Regions from separate parts of the Homo sapiens genome. Here region 2 is linked to region 1. Evidence: promoter capture Hi-C in 16 types of primary human blood cells and fetal thymus (Javierre and others, 2016). All regions are on one chromosome and are shown on one strand. Each heading gives the region's core, a stretch centred on a gene start or on the middle of the fragment in contact. The rest is flanking DNA. Distances are from core to core; before and after follow the strand shown.

Region 1 (3,563 bases), core at 318-2,817:
AAAGTTGGAACGACTTGAGCAAGAAAATAAAGAGGTATTGATTATAATCAGAGGATAAAATAAATATATGTGAGCCCATACTGTATAAATGAATGATTTAATAAACAAATGTGTAAGAATAGACAGACCCCCCCCCCATACAGAAGAATTCCAAACAACTTTTGTAGATACTCCACCTCAAGGAGGTGGAGGATAACTCCCCATTCTATAAGTATGGCCAATGCATACTGATTTCCTTCTAAAGAGTACAGGATAGAAAGTAGGGGGAGTATCTTTACAGTGGAGAAATCTGATAAACACTGCCTCGGCCAGGTGATCAAGGTTAACATCATCAGTGATAAGTCATGTTGACAGCATGTATCCTTGATATGATGTGATGAGGATGGCACGTTACCTCTGTGGCCTTCCTCCCAAGAACACATAACTTCAGTCTAATCATGAGAAAAACATCAGATAAACAACAAGTGAGGGGTATTCTACAAAATACCTGATGAACACTCCTGTCAAGGTCATCAAAGACAAATAGAGTGGCTGGATGTGGTATCTCATGCCTATAATTCCACCCCTTTGGGAGGCCACAGTGGGAGGATCACTTGAGGCCAGGCTTCAAGACCAGCCTGGGCAATATAGCAAGACCCTTCTCTAAAAAGAATAAAAAATAAATTAGCCAAGGATGGTGGTGCATGCCTGCAGTCCTAGGTACTTGGGAGGCTGAAGCAGGAGGATTGCTTGAGCCCAGGAGTTTGAGGCTGCAGTTAGCCATGATCACACTACTGCACTCCAGCCTGGGCCACAGAGCCAGACCTTGTCTCCAAAAAACAAAACAAAACAAAATCTGAGAAGCTTAAGTTAAAAACTAAGGAAATCTGAATGAAGTATGGACTTTAGTTAATAACAATGTATTAATACTGGTTCATTAATTGTAACAAATACAGCATCGTAAGATGTTAACAATGAGGGAAATTGGGTGTTAGGGATGGTTACTCACTGTACTGTCTTAGCAATTTTTCTGTATATCTAAAACCATTCTGAAAAATAAAGCATTTTATAAAAAGTTCACTAAGTATGATACAGTTTGGCTAGAAGAGATAGAGATACGCAGAGCAGAGGCAGTTTCTCTGGTATCTGAGGTCTGCAAGACCTTTGACCTAATACAGACCCTGAAGCCAGAATGCCTAGGTTTGAATTCTGGCTTTACCATTTATTAGCTAGGTAACCTTTGGCAAGTTATGTAACCCCTTTGTGAACAACTTCATCTCTGAAAAGTAGGAATGATAGCCCCTACTTTGTCATGCTGTAGTAAGGATTAAATGAATTAATGTGTATAAAGTGCTTTAATGAGCCCTGGCACAAAGTAAATTCTATATAAATATTTTGTAAAATGAATAAAAACTATGATGACTTAAAGTTCCTTTAGTAATTATCTATAATCATACAAGGTAAGGAGATATGAGTTTGGTTGCTATGAACCAGGTAGTGGTTGCCACAGACATGTCAGTACCGTGACAACCATTATTAGGACATTGCCATAGCTTTTATAAATGGACAACCTAAGCTGTGTTAATCTGACAAGAAGGCTAGAAAGCTCAATGCGTCTTCCTATTACTCTGCATATCTTATGTCTTCCATCCAAAAAGAATCAACTTATCAGATAAATAACCACCTCATGGTAAGCAAAATATGTCACTATCTTCATTTTACAGATAAGAAATTTGGAAATGGTAGGTTTAGTTGAGGTGATTTCACTTCAGGCTACCCAGAAGAGGCACTAGAAATAAAGGATCAGTCCAGCAATCCCTAATTCAATCATTTTCCCAGTTGGGTTTTCATACCTACCCTTCCTTATAAAGGAAGAACTTGTGTGATGCCAATTTGACACTTCTTGGTGGCACTGACAAACACAGAGAGCCTGACATCAAGTTAGAAGGCTCTGCCAATTATTAGGAAACAGACATGAAGCGGTTACTGGCCTCTTCTCCAAGGGAGATGGCTATCAAGGAACCCAGACAATTAGGCTCTGATGTTTCAGGCTCCTGGTCATATCAGCTTCATGTGCAAAACTGGAGTAAGGCTGGTTTTGATCACAGGCCATATATAAAGTTTCTTTTTTGTCTGGCATAAGCCAGAGCCATTCTCCAGGAGGTCCTTATGGGAAACCTAATGATCTCCTAGGGTCTGAGCTGTGCTATAAGAAATGCTATGAAATGTTAGTATTTTGGAATGGCAACTCTCCAGAACAGTAAATGACTGGATGACTCTGCAGAACCCTGATAAATTATCCATTGATAAGCTGGCACATAAACTGTGCTCATCAGATAGCTAAGCAAAGCCCATCGAAGCATTAACTGAAGTACTTTGCTAACCCAACCAGGGCTTCCTCCAATTTTGGGCTTCAACATACAGTCGTCCCTCAGTAAACTCGGGGGAAATGGGTTCCTGAACCCCCTCATATACCAAAATCTGTGCATTCTCAAATCCTGCAGTTGGCACTGCGAAACCCATGTATATGAAAAGTTAGCCCTGCATATACGTGGGTTTCACATTCACAAATATCCTCATTTGGTTGAAAAAAAAAAAGCCTGGTATAAGTAGACTCATGCAGTTCAAACCCATGTTGTTCAAGGGTCAACCATAATTAGTCATTAGGAAAATGTAAATTGAAACCACAATGAAATACCTACCTCACACCCACTAGGATAGCTGTAAACAAAAAACAAGCATTACTGGTGGGAATGTAAGATGTTGTAGCCACTTTGCAAAACAGTCTGGCAGTTCTTCAAGAGGTTAAATATAGATTTATTATATAACCCAGCAGTAATACTCCTAGGTATATACCCAAGAGAAAAGAAAACATATCCACACAAAAACTTATATACAAATGTTTATAGCAGCATTATTCATAACAGCCAAAAAGTAGAAACAATCCACTTTCCAAGGATGAACCTTGAAGTGATTGCCTAAATTATCCTTTTTACTTAGGCATTCACTTCCAAATCCAGCTGCGCATTGACATCACCTGGGAAGCTTATGCAGCTCCCTGGCAATCTTTGAGGATGGGATACCTGGATTAATGTTTGAATCCAGACTAGACGATCTCTAAGGTCCCTGATAGCCCCAAAACTTGTATAAAATCTCTAATAGTGGGTCACCAATGCCCACATCTTTGAAGAAGAGACATTATTGGTACTTGGAACAGGTCTCCCGATAGGTCCGTCTAGAAGCCTAAGTTGGTTCTTCTCTTAGGCATCATCCCAACCTCCGCAAGGTTGAATAAACATATTCTTAACAAGGATGAACTATGGCTGAAGGGATAGGTCACATCTGATTATGTCTGTGTAGTCTGCTATACTAAGAAATCACCCCATTTTGAAGAAAGTTACTCATTAGCACAGAACTTGTCGCTGCAGTTGAGAATAACCAGTTCCTCCTTCTATGACATTTTTTTTTTTTTAAATGAAATTTTTCAAAATAACTTTAATAACCACTTTTACACTGAGCAGAATATGTCTCTCATTCTCTCAAAAATGGTCAGGAGATAATTTTTTCATTTATGAGTTTCTATT
Region 2 (3,563 bases), core at 439-2,938, 250 kb after region 1:
AAAAGATATATATACACACTATTTTCTAGCTGAAGGTTTTCAATAATAGTAATGATCATCATGATGACCACAGTTATTAATGATGTATTATATGTATCAAAATTGCTAAAATAATAGATTTCTAATGTTCTTGCTACAAAAAAAATGATAAGTTGGTGGGATGATGAATATGTTAATTGGCTGGGCTGAATTTTTCTGCATAGTATACATAGATCAAAACATCACGCTGGAGCCCATAAATATATACAATTATTATTTGTCAATTAAAAATAAATAATAAAAATACTTCATAAAAAAATCACATAATAATTTTAAAATGGAACTGAAAAAAAACAGTAATTCTGGGTCCTTTAGACACTTTGTAAACACTAGTCCTAGATCCTATGTAAATACTAGTCCTAGATCCTATGTAAATACTAGTCCTAGGAAGTATTTTCTTTCTTTCTTTCTTTCTTTTTTTCTTTTTTTTGAGACAGAGTCTTGCTCTGTTACCCAGGTTGGGTGCAGTGGTGCGATCTTGGCTCACTGCAACCTCCACCTCCCAGGTTCAAGTGATTCTCCTGCCTCAGCCTCCTGAGTAGATGGGATTACAGGCGCACACCACCACGCCCAGCTAATTTTTGTATTTTTTTGGTAGAGACGGGGGTTTTACCATGTTGGTCAGGCTTGTCTCGAACTCCTGACCTTGTGATCCGCCTGCCTCGGCCTCCCAAAGTGTGGGATTATATAGGCGTGAGCCACCACGCCCGACCCTAGGAAGTATTTTCTAAGTTCCAGTGCCATCAGAGCTTATAAAATTTTTAGAGGCAAATCAGTGAACTTAAGCAACCCACTCCCAACCAGTCTTTGTCTCTCTCCATATACACCCTGTTCCCAGAGATGGAGGGAGGAAAGAAGAAAGCTGCTTTTATCCTTTGCTGTGGCCTGGGACTGCTGGGGCTTTAAATCTTTGTATGTTTGTGTAGGAGGGTGAGGATGGGGACTTTCTGACTGCTATTCATCCACCTATTCATTCAATTTACTCATTCAACATATATTTATTAAGTAACCTACTGTGTGCTGGGCACTTGGTAAAGGGATATAATCTTATCTATCCTGCCAGTGGCTTCTCCCAGGTCTCTGAGGGTGTTTGGAGCTCATACCCTCTTCTCTTTAACAAGCGTGACAGTTAAAAGAGTAAGGGCTGGTATGGACAAAAGCAGGAAGGTGCCTGGGGTAGTAGTCATTGAGGTGAGTCATGGAGGAGCTGTATTTTCCTGAATTATTCAAGATCCATTTTGTTTCCCCAATTTGTTGAGGCTTTTTCTACACGTGAGATCTAAGAGGGTGTGAGGATGAGACTTAGGGGTGACTGGCAGACTGTCCTGAGCCCAAAACTGTACCTTGAGTACCAGTGATGATTCCAGACCACAGTGTTTCAACCCTCAACACAGAAGCAGAATCCTGGACTGGCTACCGAGGGGCCCCTGCCAGCTGCTGGCTCCAAAGTTGGTTTTGTCTGTGGGCTAGATCGGTGTAAGTTGGGGTCCAGGCTGCTCGCTCAGCAGCCTGATTGATCTCCAGGGCTCTTTTGTCTCCTCCTCCCCAGTGGAAGCCTCTCCCCCTCTTCCCCTCTCCCCCTCTCCCCCTCTCTCCCTCTTCCCCCTCTCCTTGTCTCCTTCTCTCCCCCTCTGCTTCTCAGGCTCTTCCGCTTTCCTCCTCTGCTTCTAATGAATTGACATCTCCAAGAGCCGCCACATCTCTGGTAGTTTTACAAAACTGTCCTTGCTCTTCCTGCGTTTGCCCAGTCAAGGGTATTTTTGCCTGAGGTCGGAATGATGCTGTTAGTCCTGGTGATATGATTGCATAGCAACACAGAGCAGCTCTGAGAGGGGAGGAGGAGGAGAAGAAGGAAGACAGGGAAGTGGGAGAGACAGAGGGAGAGTGTGCATACAGCAGCTGTCGGCATCCCTGTCTCAGGGACTTCTTTGCTGATTCACAGAGGCAGCCCAGCCCCGGCCTCCCAGCTTACAGCTGCCGCCTGCTTCTCAGACCTGACGGAATCAGAAGGTAGGCCACAGAAAAATTATTTCCAAGCCTTGGCCTTGTTCAGCTGGCTGAGGGGAAATGACTGAGGGAGGGGAAGCTCCAGAGGTACTGTGTGGCGGGCGAGGGGTGGGGGGAGAGAGGGAAAATGAGTGTGTGTGTGCGTGTGTGTGTGTGTGTGTGTGTGTGTGTACGCGTGCCTGCCTGCGGTCTGCTTGCATGTGCCTTTAGTGGAAAACTTGCATTTAAAAATGCCCACAATAAAGTAGTCACCATTTAGATTCATAAAGAAAAAAAAAAAGATGCCCAAGAATAGAAACTCAAGCCGATTTGAGCAACTAAGGTCTAAAAATGAATAAGAAGGAGGTACACAGTTTGCTTCTTTGAGAAAAGAGGGGCATTTATTTATTTTAGGTTCTCAATAGCATGCTTTTTGTCCAAGGGTATACTTCTTGGCAGGAGGGAAGCAAAGGTGTGTGGAAAGCCTTGGCTAACAAGGGAGGAGAGAGGAAACATGGGACCTTGGAGCAGGTTCCCTGAACAAATGAGTATTCTGGCCAGCAGACAGGACACAGGAGTTCTTTGCTGAAGTAAACCAGGCTCTGACCTAAGAGCCTGGAGCTGAAGGGCTCATCTCATCTCTGTATTTACTTCCTGGCTCTGTTGTTTTTCCTGTGACATTTTTCCCCCTTATCTTCTCCCCTGGTTTCCTTTCTACACCCTGTAATCAGGAGGCATCTTTCCACTCTTGAAAGCATAGCTTGGAGTGGTTTCAAATAGGGCTTGCTTCTCTTGGAGTCCAACACCCTATCACCTTCTGCTCTCACCACCTTTCCCAGCATCGGACCAAGTGCCCCAGCCTAGTAAGTGGGCCTGAGACTATATGGGTAGTTAATGTTTATCCTTCCTTTGGTAGGCAGGTCGAGCCAGGCCTCACAGGTGTTGGGTCTAAGCAGGTGGCAAGGCTGGGCTGGGGTGGGGTGGAGTGGGGTAGAGGAGAACGTCAGCAGCAGCTGCTGCCTGCTTCCGTTGAAAGCATGGTGCATGCTGTCTGGAAAAGAACATACTTTTTAAAAATGTTTTCTTTTTGATTGTCAAAAGAACAAAAGCCTTAAAAAAGCTCTATGTCTAGTTCATCTTAATTCCTGACTTTTCCAAAGAATCCTTGTTTCTAGATGAAAGGCCCTCAGGTAAATCACCTTTTAAAAGGCCTGTGGGAACCACAAGCCTCAGGTGATTTTCCTTCTAAGGTTTGCGTGGGGAGATGATCCCAGAGAATCTCAGGGCCTTCTAAGGAAACCTCCGTGAAAAGGCAGTGTTGGAAGTGGCAGTGTTGTGTCCTGTTTCTGAAAGAAGACCAAGCCCCTCTGTCTCTGGGTTGGCAGGCCTCTGTCCTGTAGTCTTGCTTTCTGTAAACCATTGCTGGGGGATGAAGGCACATGGAAAGAACTCCTCTTCCTGTGAGATTTGTACTTCTAGGCATTCAGCCTCAGCTAAGTAGCTCTGTGCTCCAGGTCAGATTACCCTTCAAGTCCACC

Evidence for each region. Contacts are between HindIII fragments. The CHiCAGO score rates a contact against its expected background, and 5 or more counts as called.
Region 2: a contact is called between the fragment with the promoter of DRP2 here and the fragment with the promoter of ARL13A in region 1, in 5 of 17 cell types (non-activated CD4 T cells, erythroblasts, endothelial precursors and 2 more). The highest score is 8.7, in non-activated CD4 T cells.

What each region holds. Positions count from the first base shown.
Region 1 is chrX:100,968,141-100,971,703 of GRCh38, forward strand. It overlaps ARL13A (ARF like GTPase 13A), which reads left to right and starts at 1,568. Exons shown (of 8, transcript NM_001162491.2): 1 at 1,568-1,669. The HindIII fragment of the contact is 2,181 bases long and covers 842-3,022 here.
Region 2 is chrX:101,218,098-101,221,660 of GRCh38, forward strand. It overlaps DRP2 (dystrophin related protein 2), which reads left to right and starts at 1,689. Exons shown (of 24, transcript NM_001939.3): 1 at 1,689-2,049. The HindIII fragment of the contact is 8,546 bases long and covers 1-3,563 here.